4 separate regions of the Homo sapiens genome follow, and regions 2, 3 and 4 are each linked to region 1. Evidence: promoter capture Hi-C in 16 types of primary human blood cells and fetal thymus (Javierre and others, 2016). All regions are on one chromosome and are shown on one strand. Each heading gives the region's core, a stretch centred on a gene start or on the middle of the fragment in contact. The rest is flanking DNA. Distances are from core to core; before and after follow the strand shown. Region 1 holds the start of FTL (ferritin light chain). Region 2 holds the start of HSD17B14 (hydroxysteroid 17-beta dehydrogenase 14). Region 3 holds the start of RASIP1 (Ras interacting protein 1). Region 4 has its middle 14 kb from the start of FGF21.

The links. Contacts are between HindIII fragments. The CHiCAGO score rates a contact against its expected background, and 5 or more counts as called.
Region 2: a contact is called between the fragment with the promoter of HSD17B14 here and the fragment with the promoter of FTL in region 1, in 15 of 17 cell types (endothelial precursors, erythroblasts, activated CD4 T cells and 12 more). The highest score is 13.6, in endothelial precursors.
Region 3: a fragment that was not itself captured here is called in contact with the fragment with the promoter of FTL in region 1 in 3 of 17 cell types (endothelial precursors, erythroblasts and naive CD4 T cells); the score reaches 8.7 in endothelial precursors.
Region 4: a contact is called between a fragment that was not itself captured here and the fragment with the promoter of FTL in region 1, in 2 of 17 cell types (endothelial precursors and erythroblasts). The highest score is 7.5, in endothelial precursors.

Annotation. Positions count from the first base shown.
Region 1 is chr19:48,963,842-48,967,209 of GRCh38, forward strand. FTL (ferritin light chain) reads left to right here and starts at 1,468. Exons shown (of 4, transcript NM_000146.4): 1 at 1,468-1,768; 2 at 1,929-2,075; 3 at 2,440-2,565; 4 at 2,742-3,038. The coding sequence starts at 1,667. The coding sequence ends at 2,894. RefSeq lists a cis regulatory region at 1-367, enhancers at 49-158, 1,708-1,757 and a silencer at 1,298-1,457. The HindIII fragment of the contact is 1,823 bases long and covers 962-2,784 here.
Region 2 is chr19:48,834,835-48,837,884 of GRCh38, forward strand. HSD17B14 (hydroxysteroid 17-beta dehydrogenase 14) reads right to left here and starts at 1,657. Exons shown (of 9, transcript NM_016246.3): 1 at 1,490-1,657; 2 at 971-1,009. The coding sequence starts at 1,577. It overlaps PLEKHA4 (pleckstrin homology domain containing A4), which reads right to left. Exons shown (of 20, transcript NM_020904.3): 20 at 2,263-2,717. The coding sequence ends at 2,455. RefSeq lists a silencer at 2,565-2,634. The HindIII fragment of the contact is 28,283 bases long and covers 1-3,050 here.
Region 3 is chr19:48,738,002-48,741,273 of GRCh38, forward strand. It overlaps RASIP1 (Ras interacting protein 1), which reads right to left and starts at 2,609. Exons shown (of 12, transcript NM_017805.3): 1 at 2,520-2,609; 2 at 2,145-2,285; 3 at 959-1,644. The coding sequence starts at 2,281. IZUMO1 (izumo sperm-oocyte fusion 1) reads right to left here. Exons shown (of 10, transcript NM_182575.3): 10 at 2,851-3,027. The coding sequence ends at 2,907. RefSeq lists a silencer at 825-1,344, an enhancer at 862-1,401 and a cis regulatory region at 2,462-3,272. The HindIII fragment of the contact is 1,528 bases long and covers 704-2,231 here.
Region 4 is chr19:48,768,275-48,771,584 of GRCh38, forward strand. No RefSeq gene overlaps it. Among named protein-coding and RNA genes, the nearest start is that of FGF21, 14 kb to the left of the region's middle. The HindIII fragment of the contact is 1,688 bases long and covers 1,079-2,766 here.

The DNA of each region.
Region 1 (3,368 bases), core at 218-2,717:
TCCCACCAAAAAAGTCGGGGAGTGCCAAGGGGATGAGGTCAGCGAGTGGCCCCACCCCCATCCGTCCCCGCGGGGGCCCCTTCCCGCGCTGAGCTCAGCATGACTCAGCAGTCGCTGCCTGCAACAAGGACCCCAGATACCGGCCTGGCGGGGCATCTGCAGATCCCCTCGGTCAGGGGCTGCCCCGCCTGGGCTGTTCGGAGCAGCTCCTCTGTAGGGCAGGGCCTGACCTCACCCCACACCCCAGTGGCTTCAGCTCCCTGCCCAGCGCACGGGCTGCCTCCATCAGGGCACTTAAGTAGAGTCAAGGTTTGCGCCGACTCCGTCTCCCAGAAATCAACGTGGACCAGGCCCACTTAAAAAATATGCATTAGTCGAAGACAGACGTCTCGTCCATAGGTCCCCAGACTGTTTGTCCACAACGCAGGGCTTCTCTTTGTGGGCCTGAAGGAGCACACGTCAGGCAAGACACGAGGGCAACTTCAGAGACACTGTTCAGGGCCACGGAGAATTCTCGAAGTCTGTGAGTTGTCTCCAAAACAGCCTCCAGGAAATGCAATCCCAGAGACACCGCAAAGCTCAAAACAGACTTTTCATTCCTCCCCATTTCCACTCCCAGAAAAAGCCTGGGCCCCTGAAAGAGCTCCAAGGTATCCCCAAAGTCCCAGCCCATCTTTGGAGGGTTCCAGAGGGCTGTCCAGGGTTCCAGAAGTCACCCTACCTCATACAATGCTCCTCCTGGGCTTCCCGCACTGGGTGAAACCCACGGCTCCAGAATAACTGCCCTTTCCAACTTGCAGAGCACCTCAAGAACCTAAAGATTTCCCCGGGGAGGGCTCCAAAATATAGAGAGTTTGCATCGTGAACCCCCACCCCTGTAAATCCCAGGACTCCAGTCCCCGCAACACTCCATCTTCCAGAGATCTCCAGGGGTCCAGAAATAACACCTCACAGCCTTCCAAGCTTCCCAAGGATCCGGAGACTCCTTATCTCGCAGCGCAAACCTCAGGCAACTACAGGTCCTCCCTGCACCTTTGAGGTGCCCCTCCCCCCACTCAAGGTTCCAGAAAAATCCATGCCCTCGGAAACCCCAGAATCTTACTTTCCCGAGGCACCCCAGGACCCCAGGGTCATCAGTTCACAGGGCTGTTAGTGCTCCCATAAAACTCTAGCCTCCCAGAGGGACCCCAGCCCCCACCCTCCCGCCCACGAACCCCTGCATTTCCAGAATCAGCCCCAGGGCCCCAACCCCCCCAAGCCCCCATTTCACAACACGCTGGCGCTACAGGCGCGTGACTTCCCCTTGCTTTGGGGCGGGGGGCTGAGACTCCTATGTGCTCCGGATTGGTCAGGCACGGCCTTCGGCCCCGCCTCCTGCCACCGCAGATTGGCCGCTAGCCCTCCCCGAGCGCCCTGCCTCCGAGGGCCGGCGCACCATAAAAGAAGCCGCCCTAGCCACGTCCCCTCGCAGTTCGGCGGTCCCGCGGGTCTGTCTCTTGCTTCAACAGTGTTTGGACGGAACAGATCCGGGGACTCTCTTCCAGCCTCCGACCGCCCTCCGATTTCCTCTCCGCTTGCAACCTCCGGGACCATCTTCTCGGCCATCTCCTGCTTCTGGGACCTGCCAGCACCGTTTTTGTGGTTAGCTCCTTCTTGCCAACCAACCATGAGCTCCCAGATTCGTCAGAATTATTCCACCGACGTGGAGGCAGCCGTCAACAGCCTGGTCAATTTGTACCTGCAGGCCTCCTACACCTACCTCTCTCTGGTGAGTCCCCAGGACGCCCCTGGCCCTAATTTCCTCCAGCTGCGCACCTCCGGCCCTCACTGCACGCGCCAGCCTTCTTTGTGCGGTCGGGTAAACAGAGGGCGGAGTCCCCTTGGCCTCGCCTCCCGCTAACCATTGTTGCCTCCATCTCTTCCCGTAGGGCTTCTATTTCGACCGCGATGATGTGGCTCTGGAAGGCGTGAGCCACTTCTTCCGCGAATTGGCCGAGGAGAAGCGCGAGGGCTACGAGCGTCTCCTGAAGATGCAAAACCAGCGTGGCGGCCGCGCTCTCTTCCAGGACATCAAGGTAACTAGTGTGTGGGTAATGGACTACATCTCCCAGCAGGCCGTGCGCGCGAGGAGCCTTGATTTGAGGGCGTAGGTGTCGCGTGGGCTTCTGGGAGATTGAGTTCGGTCTTGTGAGCCCTCTTAACCGCTGGAAATAGAGGCGCACCTCGTGCAGTGCCCACAACACGCGGCAGTCCACACCGCTGCGTGGTCTTAGGGACGTATAGCTGTAAGAGCTAGGACAGGGTGCGGAGAGTGATAAATACAAGCTGTCACATGTCTTTGTGGCCTGGGCCTCTGACCCCCAACGACTCTTGGGAAATGTAGGTTTAGTTCTATGTGCCGAGTGTGTGTATTCTGAGCCATTTCTCCCTTCTATATAGAAGCCAGCTGAAGATGAGTGGGGTAAAACCCCAGACGCCATGAAAGCTGCCATGGCCCTGGAGAAAAAGCTGAACCAGGCCCTTTTGGATCTTCATGCCCTGGGTTCTGCCCGCACGGACCCCCATGTACGTACCCGCTGCATCCATGGCTACCCAACCATACCCCTCAAGCCTCTGCTCCCTTTGGGCAAATTTCCTTCAGAGCCTCATTTCACACCTGTCACATTTTAATCTGCAACTGGCTGCTCTCTCCCCCTCTTTTCCAGGGATTGGGTTTCTAATTTCTCCCTCTTCTCTCTCAGCTCTGTGACTTCCTGGAGACTCACTTCCTAGATGAGGAAGTGAAGCTTATCAAGAAGATGGGTGACCACCTGACCAACCTCCACAGGCTGGGTGGCCCGGAGGCTGGGCTGGGCGAGTATCTCTTCGAAAGGCTCACTCTCAAGCACGACTAAGAGCCTTCTGAGCCCAGCGACTTCTGAAGGGCCCCTTGCAAAGTAATAGGGCTTCTGCCTAAGCCTCTCCCTCCAGCCAATAGGCAGCTTTCTTAACTATCCTAACAAGCCTTGGACCAAATGGAAATAAAGCTTTTTGATGCAGCTGGTGGTTTTGTGTGTGGTGTGGAAGATGAGGTGGGATCTGTTCTCATAAAGCTTCTGGCTGGGTTGGGATGCCAGTGAAAGAGGAGTTGGCCCCATCTCCCATTTTCTTAACTGTCCTAAGACAAGAGGCTATCTGGGTAGTGTTGAACCTGAGGGTTCTCTGCTTGCCTGGCTGTTAACTGTCCCTCCCAGATGGTAGAGATAGACTCCAGGGAGTTGAATTAAGACCTAGGTTGGTATCTAGAAACAGATGTTAGGTCTCAGCCAGAAACAGCCCTATTTAACGAGTGATTATGGGGCCAGGTGGGTCGCTCACCTGATGTCAGG
Region 2 (3,050 bases), core at 407-2,906, 130 kb before region 1:
CTGGGTCTGAGGGAGGAGGGGCTGAGGTCTGGACTCCTGGGTCCGAGGAAGTAGGGCCTGGGGGCCTGGACTCCTGGGTCTGAGGGAGGAAGGGCTGGGAGCCTGGACTCCTGGGTCTGAGGGAGGAGGGGCTGGGGGCCTGGACTCCTGGGTCTGAGGGAGGAGGGGCTGAGGTCTGGACTCCTGGGTCCGAGGAAGTAGGGCCTGGGGGCCTGGACTCCTGGGTCTGAGGGAGGAGGTGCTGGGAGCCTGGACTCCTGGGTCTGAGGGAGGAGGGGCTGGGGGCCTGGACTCCTGGGTCTGAGGGAGGAGGGGCTGAGGTCTGGACTCCTGGGTCCGAGGAAGTAGGGCCTGGGGGCCTGGACTCCTGGGTCTGAGGGAGGAGGTGCTGGGAGCCTGGACTCCTGGGTCTGAGGGAGGAGGGGCTGGGGGCCTGGACTCCTGGGTCTGAGGGAGGAGGGGATGGGGGCCTGGACTCCTGGGTCTGAGGGAGGAGGGGCTGGGAGCCTGGACTCCTGGGTCTGAGGGAGGAGGGGCTGAGGTCTGGACTCCTGGGTCTGAGAAAGTAGGGCCTGGGGGCCTGGACTCCTGGGTCTGAGGGAGGAGGTGCCAGAGCCTGGACTCCTGGGTCTGAGGGAAGAGGGGCTGGGAGCCTGGACCCCTGGGTCTGAAGGAGGAGGGGTTGGGGACTTGGATTCCTGGGTCTGAGGGAGGAGGTGCCGGAGCCTGGACTTCTGGGTCTGAGGGAGGAGGGGCTGGGGACCTGGACTCCTGGGTCTGAGGGCAGAGGGGCTGGGGGCCTGGACTCCTAGGTCTGAGGGAGGAGGGGCTGAGGTCTGGACTCCTGGGTCTGAGGAAGTAGGGCCTGGGGGCCTGGACTCCGGGGTCTGAGGGAGGAGGTGCTAGGGGTCTGGACCTCTGGGTCTGAGGGAGGAAGGGCCAAGGTGAGGGCTGAGGGACCGTCACTCACCATCCTTGTCGCAGATAACCACTCGGGCCCCGCTGTTCACTGAGAATAGGAAGGGAACAGGTTACTCTCCGAGCCTTGGTTAAAGCCTCTGCCGCCCTCTTGTGGCCACCTGGATTGGGGCTGATCTCCCTCTCCCCTCGTGACCCCAGTCTCATGATCACCCATAGGACAGAGGGCAGACGCCTTGACACATACTCTCCTTGCCTTGTTTCTGCTGAGGCTCCTGAACCCCCGTTCGTGGCTTCCGGAGCAAACTCCACGACTGACAGAGCCATTCCTCAAACCACTGGTTTTGTAGCTACACCAACAGACCCAGAGAAAGGGGCCACTGCCTTCGGAGACCCTGCCAGACTCAGCCCTAGCCTACAGCGCCACACGCTTACTTTAGCCTGCAAATTGGCTTTTATAATATCAGAATCCTGGCTGCAGTACTGGAGTCCCTATTTTCCGCCCCCATCACCCCGCCCCCATCCTTCCTTTCTCACACTCCACAGCTCCCAGCAGTCAGACCCGGCTCACCGAAGGCGCGCACGATCCCAGCTCCGATGCCGCGCCCGCCCCCGGTCACGACCACCACCTTCCCGGCATAGCGCGTTCCCGTAGCCATCCCGTGTACGTCGGTCTCTCTCTCTCTCTACTCTGGGCCTCTTTCACCTCCAAAGCCCCGTGAGGCCGTCGCATCAAATCCTCAATAGAGGCTGGATCCTGGAAGTCCGGCCTCGGGGGGCGTTGCCAGGAAGGCTAGAGACCTGGAAGTTTGTCCCCAGCCCCTCCTCCCTCAGACACTCCTCTCTTCCCACAGACCCAGGAATCCAGGAGCCCCAGTCCCTCCTCCCACAGACCCAGGAATCCAGAAGCCTCAGTCCCTCCTCCCTCAGACTCGGGAGTCCAGGCCCCCAGCCCCTCCTCCCTCAGACTCGGGAGTCCAGCCTCCCAGCCCCTCCTCCCTCAGACCCGGGAGTCCAGCCTCCCAGCCCCTCCTCCCTCAGACCCAGGAGTCAGGGTCCCAGCCCCTCCTCCCTCAGACCCGGGAGTCCAGCCTCCCAGTCCCTCCTCCCTCAGACCCAGGAGTCAGGGTCCCACCCCTTCCTCCCTCAGACCCGGGAATCCTGGCCCAGCCCCCTCCACTCTCAGACCGAGGGATCAGGTTCTCTATCCCTTCTTCCCAGAGACCTATAAGTCCAAGCCCCCTGTCCCTTCCTCTCTCAGGACCCAGGAGTCCACGACTCCAGCTCTGCCCCTCAGAGACACCAGTGCCACAACCCCAGACAGACAGAAAGAAAGCTATTGACTAAAAGTTCAAAGTTTTAATCCAAATTTAGACAGTGTTGAGAAAACCAAACTTTGGCCATAGAAACCATTCCCCTCCCGGGCCCGCAATGGGGACCAGACCACGCCCCCTGATGCCCTGAGTGGTCCCAGATCTCCGGCGGTACCTCCAGACCACGTCCTCGCGCTCCGATTGGCTGCCGCTTTTGGGCGGATTAGAAGCTGGATTGTAGCAGAGTGACTCGCAGAGGCCATGCCCCCTCGTCTTGTGGCAGGACCGGAGGGGCGATCCCGGCATCCCACGCGGGCCCCCAGGGGGTGGGACCTCCTCCACGCCCACTCCCTCGGCGAGAGAACCCCGTGGAACCCGAATTAGCCACCGGGGGAGATCTGGGGGGAGGGGTCTCCTGGCGCGTGGGGTCCGAAGGAGGCAGCGGCACACCGGGAAGAGGGTCTCCCTGGGAGTCCAAATTTCCACCTGGAGAGGATGAGTGGGACATGAGAATGGCAAACCTCAGCGCTAGGACCCCGGATTCCCAGCCCCTCCTCCCTCAGACCCAGGACTCCGGATTCCCAGCCCCTCCTCCATCAGACCCAGGAGTCCAGGCCCCCAGCCCCTCCTCCCTCAGACCCAGGAGTCCAGGCCCCCAGCCCCTCCTCCCTCAGATCCAGGAGTCTGGATACGCCAGTCCAGTCCTCTTTGAGACTCAGTTGTCGGCCCTCTCCCCGCCCCCTGACCTCTTCCTCCCCTCCTCCCAAGTGTCCCGGACCCCAGTCACCTCTTGCCTGAGACCTAAAACTCCCAAACCCT
Region 3 (3,272 bases), core at 218-2,717, 230 kb before region 1:
TGGCGCGATCTTGGCTCACTGCAGCCTCTGCCTCCTGGGTTCAAATTATTCTCATGTCTCGGCCTCCCGAGTAGCTGGGATTACAGGCATGCGTCACCACGCTCGGCTAATTTTTGTATTTTTAGAAGAGACAGGATTTCACCATGTTGGCCAGACTGGTCTCGAACTCCCAACCTCAGGTGATCCGCCCGCCTCAGCCTCTCAAAGTGCTGGGATTACAGGCGTGAGCCACCACGCCCGGCCAGGACTAGTTCTTTAATTCAAAAAGACCCTTGTCAATATTCAGTATCAAAACAGTTGCACTATTGATTTCTCTTTCTCCTAATTGGCCCCAAGAGACCACATCAAAGGAGAGTACAGTTTAAGCCATTAAGCTGCAGGATGTACACCTAACAGACCTCGCAGAAACCTTACCAGAAAGTGGGGATTGGTTAGAGAAAGGAACTTTCAAAGATCAGCAAATTGCTAGTGTCCTCTAACCTACCACACAGGGCGAATCCCTTAGGCCCCTGCGGACTCCTGCCCATTCCACTGGACTCCACAAACGCTCCTCAGGATCTACTACTCCGCAGACCCCGCTACACACCCCACCTCCTCCAAGGCAGTCTGAAATGCCTGCAGAAGGCCCTAACCCCAATTCGGAGCCACTTCAGGCCACTCCAAGCCACCACCAGCAACCAGCCCCCGTCCCGCCTAAGCCCCAAGCTTGGCCCCTGTAAAACTCCTGCTCAATCAACAAGCCCCACCCAACTCTCAGGCCCGCCCATCTGGCCGCCCCCGGCCCTGCTCTAGCTCTGCCTAGAGTCCAACACGCACCGTCCAGTCCCCTCCCAGTCCCCTCCCGCGGGCCCCGCCCCCAGCCAGCCCGCGAGTCCCACAAGCCCCGCCCAGGCCCCGCCCCACGGACCCCGCCTCTCTGGCACCGAGTCCCCGCCCCAGAGCCCCGCCCGCCGCTCACCTTCGCTGTCCGCGGCCCCGAAGGCCTCCTGCTCCAGGCGCCGCGCCTCCTCGCGGCCGCGCAACTCGAAGCGCCGCGCCCAGCCGGGCCGCGCCCGCCACAGCTCCTGCACCAGCAGCGGGCGCTCGGAGTCGCCCAGCACGCGCAGGTGCTCCGCCCGCCACTCGCCGCTTCCCACGCCCGCCGCCGCGGGCCGGCCCAGAGCGTCGCACAAAGCGAAGGCGTCCACGCAGCTGCTCTCGCCGGGGCCACCGCCGGGGCTGCCTGCTAGGCCGTAGCGCTCTAGCGCCTCGGCCACGAGCTCGCGCGCCGTGGAGCGCGCCGTGGCCAGCACGCTCTTGTAGTTGGCGCCCGATGCCAGTCCGGCGCCGAAGATCTTGAGGACCCCCGGAGGCGCCGTGGCGCGGGTAGCCAGCGGGGGCTCGGGGGCCACGCCCGCCGCCAGCTCCGGCAGCTTCTTCTCGCTGGCCCAGCGCTGCGCGCCCCCCGGGGTCCCAGGGCCTCCTGCGCCGCTGGACCCCGTGGTCCCGGTCCCCGAGCCCCGGAAGAGCTGGGAGATGCGCTTGGCGCGGCTACCGGAGGCTCCCCCGGCCGCCTTGACAGCGCCCACTCGCCGCAGCTCCACGTGCGGCGGGGGCGGAGGTAGCGGCTCGCTGCTGCGGCTCCCCGTGTCCGACGAAGAAGACCTGGGAGTCCGCCGGGGAACAGAGTCGCGGGAGAGAGACCCAGGACGACACGCCAAGACGGGGGTGGGGGCATATTAGGAGGGAAGTGGGCAGAGACCCAGAGGGAGGACAGGGACCCAGGGTGGATGGACGGGGCGGGGGTGAGGGTGGGGACAGACGCGAGGCAAAGAGAGAGAGAAAAAATAAATAAATAAAGGCAAGTCCCACAGTAGGAAATTCCAAGAGGTGAGCAGGGAGGGGAGGAAGGAAGGTGAATCAATCCCCCTGCTCCTTCTGTCCCCGTCCCCGTGCCCATCCGGCCTCACTCCACCTCCTAGCCTAGCTCTTACTCCCACCGCGCCCTGGTATCACTGTGCCCCACCGTCTCCCCCTGCCCACCAGCTCGTTTGCCCAATTCAGGATGAGGACCGGAGCCAACACTTTGCAGGGACTGGGCAGTGAACAGGGACAGATGGGAAGCAGGTGTGCAGGGGCAGGAGTCCTGCAGAGATGGCACTCACTTGACAGAGGCTGCGCTGGGCCAGCGCCGCCCCAGCTTCGCCAGCTGCTTCCTGGGGGAATTGATCCACAGGCCCACGGGGAGATGAAGCTTCCCGAAGCGGGGGCTTCCGCCCTCCTTCCGTTCACCAGACAGCATGGCCCTAAGGGAAGGCGGGTAAGGCCCCAACTCCTAAGGCATTCTTGTGGGGATGGGGTGGAGGGAACCTGGACTCCGAGTCAGAGGGAGGAGGGGGCTGGGGCTCAGACTTGCGAGTCCAGGGGGAGGAGAGGGATGGTACCCTGGATTCCTGGGTCCTGGGATGGAAGATGGCTGGGGGACTGAGTCTTGGGGCCCAGGGAGGAGGGGTTTGGGCTGCTGGGTCCCTGGCTCTTACCCTGCTTCGGGTCCGGCACACCCGGAGGCCCTGGCTCCACTGGCCTGGGTCAGTTCCACTGCTCTTGCCTCTGCCACGGCTCCCAGCACTGGGTGGGGGACAGGAAAAGGCAAGAGGAAACCCGGCAGGAAGAGCGGGGAGGGGGCGTCCTGTGAGGAGACCAGGCCTGGGGGAGGAGATCTGGGTAGGGTTGGCCCTGCCCCATTCCTTGATTCTGGAATTACATCGCAGTCAGTTGGTCCCCTCCAGGACCCAAGGGTCCCGGTTTTCTGCCCTTCCTCCCTCAGGCCGGAGCCCATCCCCAGACCTCTCCTCTCGGGGAACCAAAGGCTAGAATCAGTCCCGTCCCGGGGAGTGAGTCAGATGCTTAGACAACAAGATAAATCTTTATTGTTGCCTCGAATCTGTGGCCTTTTCTTTTGGGACCTGGGTTTGCTCGGCCGCTCCACTGCCAAGGCCAAACAGTGAGGATTTGATGAAATCGATCACCTTCCTTCGACGAAATATCCTAGGGGTGGGAGTGGGGTGCAGATCATGGAACCGGTTTGGGTACTAATTGTGTGGGGGACACCCCTCCCAACCTCCCCCTTTGTGACCTTATTCTAGCAATTACCTAAGCCTCGCCCTTCGAAGTCCTCCTATTCAAGCCCCCCGCACTCCATCCCCAGGAAAGTCCTGCTCTCAGGCCTCAGTAGCCCCCAGACCAGCTTCTGTGTTGGGTTCCTGGAAGCCCCGCCCCTTACTCCAAGCCAA
Region 4 (3,310 bases), core at 673-3,172, 200 kb before region 1:
CCCACAGTATTGTATGCAATATATAACCACTCAGCACAGCCACCTCTCCAACGTTCAGGAGCAAACTCTATCTCCTTGGTTCTTGCCCCCACCATTATCAGAACCTTCCCTCTGCTTTACTCTCTGAGCGCCTGCCAAGATCAGTTTGGGTTTTGTTTCTCTATTAGTTTTCACCAGTGTGGAGCTTCGTCCTTCCAAGAGGGAGGTTCTACTGAGTGAGCACTTCCCAGATCCCTGGGGAGCCAGGCTATTTAGCATCTTTCAGCTTCTCCACCACACCCTATCCTCACCTACTCACTGGAGCCCCTAGAGATTTGACTACTGTTCTTGTTTTCTTTTCTTTTTTTTTCGGAGGGGTGGAGGGGGACAGGGTCACTGTCGCCCAGGCTGGAGTGCAGTGGCACAATCTCAGCTCTCTGCAACCTCTGCCTCCCAGGTTCAAGCAATTCTCCTGCCTCAGCCTCCTAAGTGGCTCAGATTACAGGTGCCTCCACCTGGCTAATTTTTTGGAGGTTTTTTGTTTTTGTTTTTGTTTTTTTTGTTTTTTTTTTTTGTTTTTTTTTGAGAGAAAGAATCTCGCTCTGTTGCCCGGGCTGGAGTGCAGTGGGCTCACTGGAACCTCCGCCTCCCGGGTTCAAGAGATTCTCGTGCTTCAGCCTCCCAAGTAGCTGGGACTTCAGGTTTGCGCTACCATGCCCGGCTAATTTTTGTATTTTTAGTAGAGACAGGGTTTCACCATGTTGGCCAGGCGGCTCTCAGAACTCCTGACCTCAAGTGATCTGCCCGCCTCGGCCACCCAAAGTGTTGGATTACAAGCGTAAGCCATTGCACCTGGCCGAAAACCAATCTGTATCATAACCCCACGGCACCTGAATCATTTCTAAGTGTACAGTTAAGTCGCGTTAAGTATATTCACATTGTTGCACAACCAATCTTCAGAATTTTTTCATCTGATAAAATTGAAACTCTCTGCCGCAATTAAATCCCACTTCCCCAATTCTCCTCCCTTCAGCTCCTGGCCACTTTTTCCAGCCCCATTTGTTGAAAACATGGTGGTGAGCTCCTTGAATGACTGAGAAGCTTTTGTACATGGACAGGAAAATTCACAACAATTTGTTTTTTTGTTAATGATCAATGAATTTTTAAACAATTATCTTTCCTTTAAACATTCACAGACTACTTCTACAGCTAAAAATAACAAGCCACAAATTTCACAATTGTAGATTTCGCCTAAATATTTGAACAGTGATTGCACATTTAATCAGTGAACTTTTCACAAATCTGATATTGTGGTTTCCCTTAAATGCCATGAATAGGAGAAAAACAGTAATACACTCTGTCATACTTTTCACAAGTCTGATATACCAGATTCTTACAAATGCTTTAAATATTTTCGAGAAGGCTGGGCAAGGTGGCTTACACCTGTAATCTCAGCACTTTGAGAGGCCAAGGTAGAAGGATCACCTGAGCCCAGGAGTTCTAAACCAGACTGGGCAACATAGCAAAAGCCCATCTCTACCAAAAAAAAAAAAAAAAAAATTAGCCAAGTGTGGTGAAGCGCACCTGTAGTCCCAGCTAGTTAAGAGGCTGAGGTGGGAGGATCACTTGAGCTGGGGAGGTCAAGGCTACAGTGAGCTGTGATCACACCACTGCACTCCAACCTGGGTGATAGAGAGAGACCTTGTCTCAAAAATAAATAAATATGGCCGGTGTGGTGGTTCACGCCTGTAATCCCAGCACTTTGGGAGGCCGAGGTGGGCAGATCACCTGAAGTCATGGTGAAACCCCGTCCCTACTAAAAATACAAAAATTAGCCGAAAGTAGCCCAGTATGGTGGCGCATGCCTGTAATCCCAGCTAATTAAGTGGCTGAGGCAGGAGAATCACTTGAACCTGGGAGGCGGAGGTTGCAGTGAGCTGAGATCACGCTATTGCACTCCAGCCTGGGCGACAAAAGCGAAACTCCGTCTCAAAAAATACCCTCCCAGAGAGCTCCCTTACCCTTTCACCAAGTGGAAACACAGCAAGAAGGTGCCAGCAATGAACAAGGAAACTGGCCCACACCAGACACAGAATATGCTGCTGCCTTGATGTTGGACTCCACACCCTCCAGAACTATGAGAGATACATATTTGTTCCTTAAGCTACACAGTCTGTGGTATTTTTGTTACAACAGCCTGAATGCCCTCTTCCAAGTCAATTCTCACCAAGCCGACATTCCAGGGCAAAGCCCGTGTTATCTTAGAGTTTGTCGTAACCACATGAATTGGGTTATTTATTTATTTATTTATTTATGAGACGCAGTTTTGCTCGTCACCCAGGCTGGAGTGCAATGGCAAGATCTCGGTTCACTGCAACCTCCTCCTCCTAGATTCAAATGATTCTCCCGCCTCAGGCTCCCGAGTAGCTGGGATTACAGGCACCCGCCACCACGCCCAGCTAATTTTTTTGTATTTTTAGTAGAGACGGGGTTTCACTATGTTGGCCTGGCTGGTCTCAAACTCCTGACCTCAGGTGATCTGTCCGCCTCGGCGTCCCAAAGTGTTGGGATTTCAGGCGTGAGCCACCGCGCCCAGTCGACTCAGAGTGTCTTATTTTTATAATACAGCCTGAAAAACTTGTTCTAAGTCATAGTATTGTAATAGGTTGGGACATGAGATGATTTCACGGCTGTTTGTTCCAGGACCTTCTCCGGGAAACGTGTGGGGCATTTCCTCTTTGTTACACACTCAGGGTGAGCCCATTTTTCCTCTACTTGTTTGGGTGAAGCTTCGCCGCTGTCTCTGCCACAAAGCTGACCCTCCAGCTCTGTGACCCCCTTGGCAGCTGGCACCAGCAGCACGGGGCCCTGGCAGGGCGCTGGCTGGCAGGAGGAGGGGTGTAGGGATTTCTCACAAGACCCTAGTTCCACACTGCGTCTTGCCAGGAGCCAGGGACAGCAATGGCTCCAGCTTCCTGTTACTTTCTGCTCTTCCGGAAGTAGATTTCCAGGCCCCTCAGAGAGAGGTCCCAGACTCCATTAGGCCACACCCTCTTGGAGGTGAGAGACCCGCTGCCTGCAGCCCACTCCCTAGAGGTCTATTTGGTTTGCATAGTCGCCGTTTTTTCATAATAAAACTTAAAAAAAAAAAAAAGACCAATTAAAACCTGTAAAACAGGTGGCAGGTGATCAGGATTAGAATGCTTTGAAATCTTTTGTTATTCTGGAATATGACAGAATGATTATATTTAGATTTGGTCACTTTAAGGATGCATGTTAAAATTTCAAGAGTGGGCCAGGCGCTGTGGCACACCCTTGTGATCCGAGCACT